Regions from separate parts of the Homo sapiens genome. Here region 2 is linked to region 1. Evidence: promoter capture Hi-C in human tissues and cell types (Jung and others, 2019). All regions are on one chromosome and are shown on one strand. The core of a region is centred on a gene start or on the middle of the fragment in contact, and the rest is flanking DNA. Distances in the headings are between cores, read along the strand shown. Region 1 holds the start of AKAP6 (A-kinase anchoring protein 6). Region 2 overlaps NPAS3 (neuronal PAS domain protein 3).

What was found. Contacts are between HindIII fragments. The study calls those that stand out against the background at their distance.
Region 2: a fragment that was not itself captured here is called in contact with the fragment with the promoter of AKAP6 in region 1 in 1 of the 25 tissues and cell types used here (mesenchymal stem cells).

What each region holds. Positions count from the first base shown.
Region 1 is chr14:32,325,914-32,332,703 of GRCh38, forward strand. AKAP6 (A-kinase anchoring protein 6) reads left to right here and starts at 3,385. Exons shown (of 14, transcript NM_004274.5): 1 at 3,385-3,495. RefSeq lists an enhancer at 5,350-5,644. The HindIII fragment of the contact is 5,497 bases long and covers 1-4,367 here.
Region 2 is chr14:33,751,941-33,758,730 of GRCh38, forward strand. All of the region lies in intron 7 of NPAS3 (neuronal PAS domain protein 3), which reads left to right. Among named protein-coding and RNA genes, the nearest start is that of SNORA89, 46 kb to the left of the region's middle. The HindIII fragment of the contact is 4,510 bases long and covers 204-4,713 here.

The DNA.
Region 1 (6,790 bases), core at 2,135-4,634:
AAGGATATGAACAGACACTTCTCAAAAGAAGACATTTATGTGGCCAAAAAACATATGAAAGAAAAGCTCATCATCACTGGTCATTAGAGAAGTGCAAATCAAAACCACAATGAGATACCACCTCACGCCAGTTAGAATGGCAATTATTAAAAAGTCAGGAAACAACACATGCTGGAGAGCCTGTGGAGAAATAGGAACGCTTTTACATTGTTTTGGGGAGTGTAGATTAGTTCAACCATTGTGGAAGACAGTGTGGCGATTCCTCAAGGATCTAGAACCAGAAATAGTATTTGACCTAGCAATCCCATTACTGGGTATATACCCAAAGGATTATAAATCATTCTACTATAAAGACACATGCACATGTATGTTTATTGCAGCACTATTTACAATAGCAAAGACTTGGAACCAACCCAAATGCCCATCGATGATAGTCTGGATAAAGAAAATGTTGCACATGTACACCATGGAATACTATGCAGCCATAAAAAAGAATGAAGCTGGAAGCCATCATTCTCATCAGACTAACACAGGAACAGGAAATCAAACACTGCATGTTATCACTCATAAATGGGATTTGAACAATGAGACCACATGGACACAGGGAGGGGAACACCATACACCAGGGCCCTTCGGGGGGTTGTGGGCAAGGTGAGGGAGAGCATTAGGACAAATAGCGAATTCATGCAGGGCTTACAGCCTAGATGATGGGTTGATAGGTGCAGCAAACCACCATGGCACATGTATACCTATGTAACAAACCTGCATGTTCTGCACATGTATCCCAGGACTTAAAGTAATATAAAATAAAAAAAGAAAGTCTGCAATAAAGGAACATGTTTTTAACACTGTCACTTTATCATAAATAATGATATATAATATAATCTTGTTAGAAAATTTATATTTTATTAAATTATAATTTTATCTATAAATGGATAATTTGTTCAGAATAAACTACCCCAAAATCTTGGTGGTGTTTGTTTCTCACTCATTGCAGCCCAGTGTAGGTCAATAGGTAGTTGGGAGAGGATGGTTGAGCTCCATGCAGTCATTCAGGGACCCAGGCTCCATCCACAATGTGTGGCCATTATCTTTCTGGGCTTCAGAGTTCCACTGGATTCTTTGCATCCAGCTAGCAGGACAGGAAAACATGAAGAAGAGACACTTGGTCTTAGCCACCTTTGGAGTTGATGGTTTCCACTTCTACTTCCGTTTCATTGGTGAGTGCCATTTTGTGGGCAAGCAATTTAGCTAGTCCAGGTTGCTAAAAGTTTGACCTGGCCTCAGGTTTGATGAGCCATCCATTTCTTCCCATCAAATGATTGACTTGCTTCTGGCAAAAAAGATTAACAAGATTCTTACCATCTTGAGAAGCCATATTCAAATCTGGAACACCTGCTCCCACCCTGTCCTCTCCTCTTTATAGCATGTGGATTTCAGCTCTGGAAAGACTAATCTTGTTCTGTAATAGGTCCATGTCTCTTTATCTTCTCCAGAGACTGAAGGGTTCTTCAGAGGTATCTTAAAGAGTCAGCTTACAGCAAATGAGGTTGGAGGCAGTGGTTGAGAATGGCTCATCAGTCTGGGCTCTGGGCTTCTTATCTTGCCTCAACCAAGGCAGTCCAGCTTTGATCTGTATCATTAAAAGAAAGGTTATATTACTAATGAAAAACCTGAAAACTATGGTTATTAGCTAAATCAATCATCTCTGCAGATGAAAAACTTGAGGCCCCAAGAAGTTAATCAATTGGCCTGATATCACACAGATGCTCTAGGAGGACCTGACATTTACAGTTGGGTTTCCTGACTCTCAGATCTGTACTCTTTGTACTGGGGTAGCTGCCTGCTACTTCTCCCCTTGTGTGTGGCATGTGGTCTGAGGTCTAAGATAAAGGGAGGGAGTCAGGCTCTGCTGATGCCACAAAGGACCTAAGCAGGCAGATTCACCTCCTGCTTTTGGTCTCTTAATTCCTCTCTAGATGAAGCAAGAACAAGTCTGTCTTCCCATCTAGGGCAGGGTTGCTCTGTGCGAGGCTGATGGTGCACGCTGCTGGGATATTGGCACTTCTCAGGCATTTTATTAGCTCCTGTTTACAGAGACACTGCCTGAATTCCTTCTGCCACTCATCCCACACCGCCTATGCTGGTGGTTAACAGTGCCATTTTAAAATCTCAAGCAGGAGGAGACAACATAATTGTCTCATGTTTTAAGCTTTTGGAATGTTGTTCTTTTTCAGAGTTGTGAAGACGGAGTGGATACAGGTCAACTTGATTCTGCTTTTCTCTATCAATGGCCTGCAAATATTAAATATGCAAAACATAGGCTGCTCTGTCCATATCTCCTTCTCCCCAGTTCTCACCACATGACGTTGATTTCTGCTCAGGACTGGAAAGAAGTGATTGCTTTAGATTTGCTTTTCTTTTACCAACTGGAGAAATGCCTTACCGTGTCTTGTTTAAATGTGGCTTTTCACACAGTTCCAGCTTTTGGGGTTGGGGAGGGGCACAAATAATCTGTGTGGTAGGCAGTTTTATTGTTCAGAAAAGAAGAAAACAGACCCCAATGTTTGGAATGCCAACGATTTAGGAAGTTTCTAGCAGGTCTGCTACTTGTTCCAACCACTAGGTTTGATCCCAGAAAAGACTCACATGCGTTTTGGCCATGAGAAGGAGGGGTTCCCTGCAGGCCAAAGGAAGGGTCAGTAGAAGTTGAGGGTGGTGTGTTGTGCCCCTCTAGATTCCAAACTTCCCTTTGCTGCCTATCTGATGACCAGGTGAAAGCTGGGTTTATTCTGCATGGGAAGGTTCTGTGGGTTGGTGTTCATCAGGGAAAATAACCAGGACAGACTTCATTGGCCAAGGGTTTGCCCATGTTTTGAGAATTAAAACTTGTTTACTTGAGAGTTAGAGTCATTTGGTCAGCTGTTTATATTCCATTTTTAATTATTTTTGTGCTCGCTGTTTTGTTCTTTTGGTCTTTGACAGATGAGCAAAAATTCTTTTTAATAACTTTTAAAAAGCTATCCCAGTGCTGACCAGGGAGGAAAAAGTGATCAAATTGTCTAATAAGGAAACATTGTACATTTCAGTTTTTATTTGCTTAGTACTAATTCTATTTTCTCCTCCCACCTTTTTTTTCTAAATGTATAACAACAAAGGGGGAGATAATTTTTGTTTTTTCCAAAATGCTTTCAGGGAAATCCCTTTTAAACCTATGGATTTTAGTCCAATGAGGAATCCTCTTCCTTTGGTCTAAATTTTGCATATCGTCTGTTTCTTACAGGGCTTCCGTATTGTCTCAGGCTCCACTGGAAATGCAGCAAGGATTCCTAGCACATCCCAGTTGCCATAGCAACAGCAGTCTTTCCCATAATGAGCTGCATCATCTGAACTGATGTCACAGCATCATGCAGCAGGTCAAACAAGGCATCTCCTAGTATTGCATCCTACAGATGTGCTGTAAACATCAAAAGAAGACGGTGGGATCAGGAGATGGTGAGTGTTAAATGTCTGGGCCTTAATTGCACGGCTGTTTTGTTGGTTAGTCGGTGTCTGCTAAGGCGGAGATTGGGGGATGTTGTCTCTGCTTAAAATGGACTGGGGAAAGAAGGGCTGTTTTACCTAAATCGTTTTTCAGGCTGCCGGGTTAAGACAAAGGCCTGTAAGAGTCATATAGGAATTAAAATATGTAGAATTATTCTTGCTCCAGCTCTGTCTGTTATTTTTAAGTGTTCTTACAGAATTTTTCATAAACATAAGATGATTTTTCAATTGCAAAACCCCAGATAAGCTTTAAAATGAGTAGTTAACAGTATTTAAGCATTGTAAAAATATAGATTTCTTTTTGGGAGGCAGAGCTAATTGGCCCCCTCTTTGCTCTTGTGAATTATGAAATATTCAGTGATTTGCAGTATGAAATTCATTATTTACCTCGGTTGGGTTTCAGTTTCTTCATGGCAAGGAACAAATGCTGAATAAGCATTTGACATAACCCTGATGTGAAAGGGGATCTCTTGCATATTCAAGACAGAATTTATTAAAAGCATAAAAACCTAAACCAAATGAAATTATTTGAGCCTTTTGATCTATATGGTAGTTCTTCAACCCATGTCCTTCAGAGTTAGTTGAAAGACTGCCACATATTTTTCCATCTCTAGCTAGTCTCTGAAATAGCTGGAGTTGTTTGCAGGCTGACTTGTAACTGAGAAAGGAACAAGTCTCCTCTCTGCGGCAGTTGCAGTGAAGGGTAACCCTGGGAGAGCCTCTGAAGTGGCAGTGGTGTTGCCATCCCTTGCTTAACTTTAACAAAAATCTGGGTATGATGAATAAATATCAGGGTCCTCAGTGGTTGTAGGGATTACAGACCTCTGGACTCAGTCATAACCTCAACTCAATTCCAAAACTCTAAACACGTATCATTTTCATTTCAACTCCTAGCTCTGTTTTTAGGCATCTTTATTATTATTATTATTTTCTAAAAAATTAGTCTGACAGTGTCAGATAAGGAGCAGAATGTTGCCTTTTGTTTTGGGAAATGAAATGGATTTCCCTGGTACAGCTGATTGCTACTAGGGGAGAGAAAGGAGGAGGCACATGTCAGTTCAATTGATCAATATGTCCACTTAGAATCAGGGAGTGGTCTTGTGGCTTAATGCTGCCAAATTGATAGTTTTTACTCAAAAAGTCTTACACGAAAGAATGGCAACCATTGAATTCCTCTTCTTTTAGTCTGTTTATTGGGGCTAAAGAGATATATCATGGAAAGCAGGAAAAGCAATACCTTTAGCTAGCTTGGAGTGATTTTTTTTTTTTTTTTTTTTTTTTTTTTTTGCACAGAGTTAAGTATGCTAGTCCCATTAGGCACCAGCCAGAGGAAAGGCCTCAGGTTTTAATTTGTTTGTTTATACCACATCACGCACATGCTTGCTACTCTCAGTCCTTTAAGCTTATGTTTCTGACATGCAGCTGTATAGGATGGGAGAGGTCAGCTCAGCCTGGCTTTATCGCAAGCACTTAGAAGCATGAATTGTTCATTGCCTGCTTTTTTATGTCATATAATGTGAGCAGAAAGCTCTGCTGGGACTGCTGGGTGTGAACACATCTAAGTCGAAAGCTCTAAGGTGACAGGGAAGAGTGCTAGATGGTGATGGGGGAAGGGAAAGTATGTCTTGTAGCTAGATTATAAATCTGGATAAAATCACTTAGTGCCTTTTAGAATTTTCTTAAAGTATTATTTCTGAAGAAGAGCAATGAAGAAAGACTTGTTTGGTAACATGAATTTCTAGGAGTAAAAAAAAGCAAAAGGCAGCATTGTAATGAGTTTTCTGTTTGCTTAATTCTTGTCTCTTTTGTTTAAAGTGCTCTTCAGCTGCTTCATCATGGTTGATTTGTTCAATTACTGGAAGTCACAAAAGCTAGATTCCTTAAGGGCAGTGTTAGAAAAAGTGGAGTCATGCTTTGAGGGTGGGGAAGGGCGCTGGTGGGTGTGGACTGACGCAGTTATCTAGTGGAACATCCTCCCGGTTCAGACAACCCTGTAATTTTTCCCCCCGCAAATGTTCAAAATGCAATTACAGTTCTCCAACTTTATGCTTTTGTGCTCTTTTTGCTCCAGGAGAACAAAGCCCTGGTAATGAGAGCTATCATCCTAATGTTTTGTTTCTTCGTTTCTTTGTAGAGGGCCACAGCCTGCGCTGCTCTCTGATTAGCTGCATGTCTTAATTACTGGCTAAGGCTATTTCAGTTGTCTTAGTTTTAATATATCCCCAAGGGGTAGATGGTGTGTGTGTGTGTATAGGGGAAGGGAGAGATTTCTCTATGGCTGTATTTATTGGTGCCTCACTGAAACTTTCTACAGTTTAAGGAATTTTGTTTCACAGTAATGATAGATCATCAAGACCATGTTTATTGGACAGAGTTTAGGCCATGGAAGCCTCACAAGAAGTTAATGTCCTCTATACTTTTGGTCATGGCTTTCACAAATACATTACAAAGTTACAAAGAAGTTAATTCTTTGCCGATAACTAGGCCGCATAGGGATGATAAAAATAATAATCATAATAACAATCATAGCTATCATTTATTCAGTTCTTACTGTGTATCAGTACTGAATTAAGTTTTGTGTATATCTTATTTAGCCCTTATTATTATTATGAAGTAGAGAGTAATAATCTCACTTTATAGGATTAGGTGTTATTATTCACATTTTGCAAAAACCAGTCCTTAGCCAGGCGAATAAACTTGGCTAAGGTTATGTAGTTAATAAGTGATTGGGCCAGGATTCCAAACCATTGCGATCTGGCTATGCAGCACACATGCTTACCCACGGCCATCTCAGTTTTATGACATCTTTACTGTATATACCATACAGATCAGTCATCTATACTCTATCACACGTACCCCACCCCTCCTCATTCTAATTGGAAAATCAGATTTCATATGTAGAATGAAATGTCATTTGCAACACTAAGGTTGATTTCACTGTAAGGATGAGCATGAATCTTGATCAGATGTGAATATTTACTTTGTACCCAGAGATTTAAGTAATGAAGAGTTGATGCTTAGACTTTTGCCACTGCCCTTGCTTGATATAACTTTCTAGCAGGATCTCTGTATGGAAAATGTTACATCAATAATTGTGGGCATGATGGAGTTGCACTCAAAGCAGGTCTTACCTGAGTCAGTAATGATTCAGCTTTGTTATAAACCTGTCTTATCAGCTATATTTGTGGTGCTTTGTTAACTTTAAGATGTTTGTATTCCCTGCTGTTGCACCAGGTTCTGTTCTCAA
Region 2 (6,790 bases), core at 1,209-3,708, 1.4 Mb after region 1:
AAAGTTATGTGTTTTTTAAAAAAATCAAATACAGTATATGACTACTAGATTTTCAATAGGAGCAAAATTTCACCCCTTTCTCTCCTTCTCCCCAAAAAATAAACCTTTATATTCCTGGATTGAATGATTACTTTTTAAAAAACATAATTTTCACAAAGAAAACAAAGAAAACCTCTCCCTTTCTTTCTAAATATTTTTGCAGCATCTGCATAGGCTTTACCTTTCTATAAAATATAATATGAAACTTTGGTGCTTTGTATTGCAGATCATAAGCTGAGTTGCTTTCAGCTGCTTCATTTTATTTTATTTTTTTTCTTTCTCAAACATCTTTTTCTTCTCCAGATAATCAGTGCTCTCAACTGCTCTCAAATGCACGTACTTCTGTCACCATAAAGCTAGTGTAACCCCATGGAGTACACTCCCAAGCCATGCAAGAGCCATTTAAGAGTAGATATTTTTGTTTAAGTCAGATCTCAGGATAGAAGGGGACATCATCCCCAATTGACTCTTGGCTCTTTTTCATGTGCAAAAGCTAAAAAAAAGAACTGGACCAAGTTGGGTTTGGGTGTTTGTTTGGGCTTTTTGCATGTACTAAAGCAACACAGAGCTGATGCACAATAAACAAACATGCATTATGGGTTGTTTTCAGTCACTTTATAGACATATGCATTCATAAATTTTGATACGGTTGTAAGAAGCTGACTTTGATGGGACCAAACTCACAGACGAGCTTTCGATCACTGGAGCAACCGCAGTCTAACTTTATGTTGACAATGTATCAGCCCTTCTCCGTCAAGGAAAATTGTTTTTTAGTGCTTGCCTATTAGCAATCACATGCATAATATGAAATTGAGTTTTGGGGAGGACGGCCTACCATCTGTCTTTCTGATATTTTTTTTCAATGTTTCGCGCTCAAGTTCAACTCTCTGTGTATCAGAATGCTGTAAAACAGGATTCACCCATAATATGGGCACTTAGCAAGAAAAATGGGCCAGATACCAATGTAATCTTTTAACTTACTGACTTTTAAAAAGGAAAATCATTGATGCCCCAATCTGTGCATTATCTTTTGAGTGCACTTCAAATTCTGCCTGCCTCTCAAAGCCAACTTTGGTACGGCTGATTCTTCTTAAAGAACAGTTCATTAGTGTGCTTCGAGAAGTGTTAAAACACTTTTACAAAAATAAAAATTCAAAGAGAAAGTGGAAAGCAATGTGAGGTTGGAAAATGGAGCTCTAAAGGATTGGTGTGAAGAATGAAAAAGATGTATTTAGTTTCCCTTCCATGTTCCAATATGCTAAGATTTTTATCAATAATATTGTTTTTCTGCAACAATACCTGCCTCAGGGAAAATCTGCTCTGTAGCTGTCAGGATTATACTTCTCAAAATATGCTTAAGATGATTCTGTTAAATTGATAAAAAAAAAAAAAAACGTACACTCCACAATGTAGAAGGATTGCTCAAAAGAACATTCCCAAGCCTTTCACGTGTAACTGCATTTGTGCGGCAGGGCATTTATTATGCTATAAATTCCATCACTGATTTTGGCCAGTTCAGATTGATTCTGCAGTAACTGTAAGTAATGAACCTTCCAGAGCCAAAGAGGGGAGGAAAAGAAGTAGCCAATACACTTGTGGCTGTGGGAATACAAATTGTAGGGTTCATTTAGTCACAGCTTTTAGCAGATCATGCAGCCAATACCCTACAAAGCAAGAAAATATATACCCAGAAAAATCTACAGGTTCCTTGATCTGACTTCAGCAGCTACAACAGGCAAACACTATGAGAACACTTCTTGGGGAAAGTAAGTGATCTATTTTTTCCTAAGCTTTTATTTCCCAAATTTGTTCCCTCTCATTTTTCCCTCCCACCAAAGTATGGGCAAATGTCCATGCTACAAGAGCAACAAAATATGGAGCTCTCTTTTCCTAAGTTAGCCATGCCTGAAGCTTGCCTCCCACAGTTCCCAGTGCCAGGGGCTTAAGGGACCCTCAGCACAGAAGAAGCTCCCAGGGGTTGAGATGTAGCAATCCTCTGTTCAGATGGTTGTAAAGAGGAAAATCAGTTTCCCTAGAGTGGTTGATGCCTGAGCCTATTAAGAAAATAAGGTAACCAGTGATATGAAAAGCAGGAGAAACATCCTCTTGGAGGTGCCCCGCGACCCCACTGGGGTGGCGGCTAGAGAAAGAATTGGGTGAAGGAAAGAAGCTGCATTACAGACAGACAGTGATCTGTACTTCAGTAAAGCATTGCTGTCTAATATTAGAGGGCTTTTTTCCCTGATATTCTTTAAAACTGAGCACTAAGGAAATAGGTGGGGTGTGAGGGATGGAATAAAGTGTGATTGGAATCCGGGGTATCAAAAGAGACACAGCAGAGTAAGAGCCTTTGGCCAAGAGGAGGGAGGAGAGGAATATGGAAATGGATGACATTCAAGACACATTTCACCTACTAGGGAGGCCAAGGAAGTCCTCATTCCCTTCTTCCCCAGCTCCCTCTCCTCTCTGACCTCATGTTCGTGGAATGCTTAGGAGCAGGGGAAGAATAGTGGCTGGAGTCAGCCTCAGAGTGCTGGCTCTATGGCGGTAGCATGGTCAGAGGGAGACCATGGCTTCAATGGAATGTGCAGGCAATATTTTATGACAGTCCGGGAATCTGCATCCTCATCCCCATCCCACTGAATTTCCAGAAAGACAGAGGTACAAACAGGTAATCCATCTTAGAGAACAGCACAGCATCTTTACTGTCCTTAGTCCCCAAGAACAAATACCACAAAATCTTTCAAGATTCTCTCTCTCTTCTCCCTTTCCCTCTTAAAAATCATAGAATCGTAGAGCTGAAAAGCCTGTAGACATGGTGTTTGACTATTGTGAGGTACACCTGAAAGAATAAACCATCTGGGGCCTTTCTGAAGCATCTACATTTCTCGCTGGACTGTCTGAAGTTATTTGGGGTAAATGCCATGACGTGTCTCATAGACGAGACCATGGACACAGCAGGACAAATCTTTAGATAGGGACAGTGAGAGTTAGCCAAATGGAGACACATATTGTTGTTTTGGGTAACTCAGTAGGATGCAGAGCCCTGGCCTTAGGATCAACAGATGTAGGTTTTAGTCCTCGTTTTGCCACTTGATATATATTTGACTTTGGGGAACTCATTTAGCTTGCCTAAGTCTGTTGAAAGAGGATAATAGTACCTCTCCTGAAACATCGTAGAGTTATTATGAGGTTAATGTAAGATAATATGAGTGAAAATATTCTGTAAACTCTAAGTGACTGTGAATACCCAATATTATCTTTATTGGATTATAACTGTAAAATGTAGGGTTTTAGCATTTCAGAATATATTGGCTTAGCTTATGTTTATCACAAGTAATTGACCTCCTCATTTTATTTCTATTATTGGTACATTTATTTTTGTGAAGAAAAGCCACTTTTAACAGAAGCCTTCAGATTACCCATTTTATTTCCAAAGAGGGCAAAGGCAGAAGGTATGTTCATAAAATAAAAGTAGGAAAATAGCTGAAAGTTACTACCATGACGCCATCCCTGCCGTGGGGTCTGTGAATTGCCTCGGGGGAAAGGATTATATAGGAGTGGCTATGAATCATGGCTGATGTGATTAGGCTGCACTCTAGACCGGGTGGGCGTGTGGGCCTTTCAGGACTCCTTGTCATTGTTGCTCACTTAGGTTAATGTTAAGATTAGCTGTCTGGTGTTATTTAATAATATTACTGTCTTAGGCCATTCTATGTTGCTATGAAAGAATACCAGAGGCTGGGTATTTTATGAGGGAAAGAGGCTTATTTGGCTCACGGTTTTGCAGGCTATCTAGGAAGCATGACACCTGTATCTGTTCAACTTCTGGTGAGACATCAGGCTGCTTCCACTCGTGGCAGAAGGGAAAGGGAAGCTGGCAGGTGCGGTGATGCCATGGAAAGAGAGGAAGCAAGCAAGACAGTGGGAGGTGCCAGGTCTTTAACAACCAGCTCTCCTGGGATCTAACAGAGTGAGAACTCACTCACCCCTGAGGGAGACCATTCATCTATTCATGAGGGTTCTGCCCCCATGACCCAAACACCTCCCACTAGGTCCCACCTCCAACATTGAGGATCTAATTTCAACATGAAGTTTGGTGAGGGCAAATACCCAAACCATAGCAATTATCCAACTTTGAGTTTGATTTCTTTTATTAGTGATTGAAAGCTTTATGTATCCCTCTTTGCATTGGAATAAAGTAATCATTTATCAGAGTCAGTAATGAGTAATACAGAGACCATAAGTTTCTTGAGGGAGAAAGGGTAAGAGGGCCCAGATGAGCCAAACCCACCTACTACATAGTGAATGCCCTGGACAATTTCTGGAATCCCAGTTGGGTGGATTCTTGCAGTACCCAGTTGTATTCACGAAGTAACTAACCCCCAAGAAGAATCTTACTAATATGTTTTCTAAAGGGAATCTTATATTGAAAGGTTTTTGAAGTAAAAGGGAGAACCAGACAGATTGAGACTGCTCAGATGGATCAAAATAGCAATTGGGAGTGGCAAGAGATGCAAGGCGGTCTGTGAAAGAGAGCACTGAGCTTGGAGGAATGTCAGAATTATATTTTAGCTGTGTAATCATAACCAAACACTTCATCTCTCTTAGCCTCCAGCTCCTTATTTACAGAAAGGAGATACTAATATGTGCTCTACCTACCTTAGAGGCTATTGTAAGGATTAAAAAGAAAGAAAGGAAGTTGAGAACTTTGTGAGCTTTCATGCAGTAGATAGATGTAGCATCTAAGCAGTCAGTCATCCTGTAGTCTGGTCCTACGAGGTACACAGAGAAATAAAGGATGCATTCTGTGCCATCTGAAGGAAAACAGAGAGTCAGAGACAAAGGCAGAGACAGCAAGAGAGCAATCCCTGGTAGTACATACCTAGGTGCTGATTGGGTAGCCGAGACAAAAGTAGGAATTCAAAGGGAGGAGGACAGCACTGGGCTAAAGTATCCAAGAAGAGGAAAAGGGATTTGATATCACCCTTGAAGAATGAATATTATTTCCACTGATGGTGGGGCATGGGGAAGGAATTCTTGGTCTGAAAGGTGATGTGAGAAAAGATATGGAGAAGATAAACACAAGGCAGATTCAGGAGATGCTGGACAAAGCATCTGGAGTCCAGGGAGGGAAGTCATGGAAGATAAGCCAAGTTGTCTTGGCTTGGGACTGAAGCTTGAGACTGAATGGACACAAGCTTTTCATGATGAGCTAAGTGGTCTGAATTTTATTCCAGAATCAATCAAGGCTCTTGAGTGGTGATAGTGACAATGCTGCAACTTAATATCTACATAGTGCTACACCATTTTCAAGGCGTTTTTAAATGCACCACCTCATTCCATTTTCTCAGCAATTGTGTAAGACAGGGATGAAGAGGATGGTCACTGCTGTTCAACATATGGGGAACTGAGGCTCATAGAGGTCCTGCTGCTGCTCCAAAGTTATACAGGCAAATGAGGAAGACCCTATAGCTCCTGGTCTACTTCCTTAAAGATACTCTAGGAAGATGAATCTGACAGTAAAATGCAGGATGGACCAGAGTGGGGAAGAATACGATGGGGGAAAAAATGAGAGAGACCGGTTAGGCAGCTGCCCACCCAATTGTCCAGATGTGAGATTTCAAGAATTTGTATTACAGTGATGGCACTTGGAATGGATATACCAAGAAGTAAGAAAACATTCCTAGGTCTTAATGACTGACTGGATCTGGAAAATGAGAGAAAGAGGATCAAGGATGAGCCAAGAGAAGTGATGCACTCCCCTTTTCTGCCTTTGAATGCTGATGAAATGGAAGCATTCGCAGAAATAAAGAGTGGTCCAAGGTTGAAGCCTGAGTAACCAGTTGGACACTAGTCCTACTGACATTCATTCTTTACCCTCATGTGGAGAGGCCATTCCTTTTATTCACCTTTTCATTACAGCCCTGATCACACACTTGTCAGGTCAACACAGATGGACTCTGAGCTCCTTGGTAATTATGCCTCAGTGCCTGCACAGAGCACTGCCTTATAAAGGTTAATTAAACATTGAATGAATGAATGAACGAATGAATGTTGTCACACTCCTAAATCTCAGGTGCAGTCATATAATCCTTTCTTCAGAATTCTTCTGTGGTTCCCCCTTTGTCTGTACATGAAGTCACAACTCCTTTGTACAGCATTCATAGCATTCCACAATCCAGCCTGCTTCACCTCCTCCAGCACCTCCCCACCTACTCCACTTTGTCCTCTGTCTGCACTCCTCTCCATTTCTGAACACAAAAAGCAGTTTTGTGTCTCTGTGCTTTTGCTTATAATAGTTCTCCAACCTAATACCAGTCAAATCCTACTCACCCATAGAAATTTAACTCAAATGCTGCCTCCTCCCTGAAAGGCTCGCCCTAGTGCCTTGTCAGGATGGCTCTCCTCTTTGCTACTTCTGCACGGGGCATCCCTCTGCAGGTCTCATTCAGGGCTTGGCCAATGTGTGCAACTCCTGGACAAGCTGGCCCCATAGGGCGTAGCAGAGCGTTGACTCCTATTAAGATTTTAAATAGGGGAAAAGAAAGAAAAGCGGCCAAAGAACTATTTAGGGAAGAAGGCTATGAGCTTAATTTCTGTGTCCTCTAATGAAATTTACCTCTTTCCTAGAAATTCTTCTCAATGAAAAATAATATTCATTTAAACATTGCATATTTATACAAAGGAACTGCTTTTTTTTCTCTGCCTATTAAGATGCAGGGTAGTTCTACTTTAACATCCAAGGTTT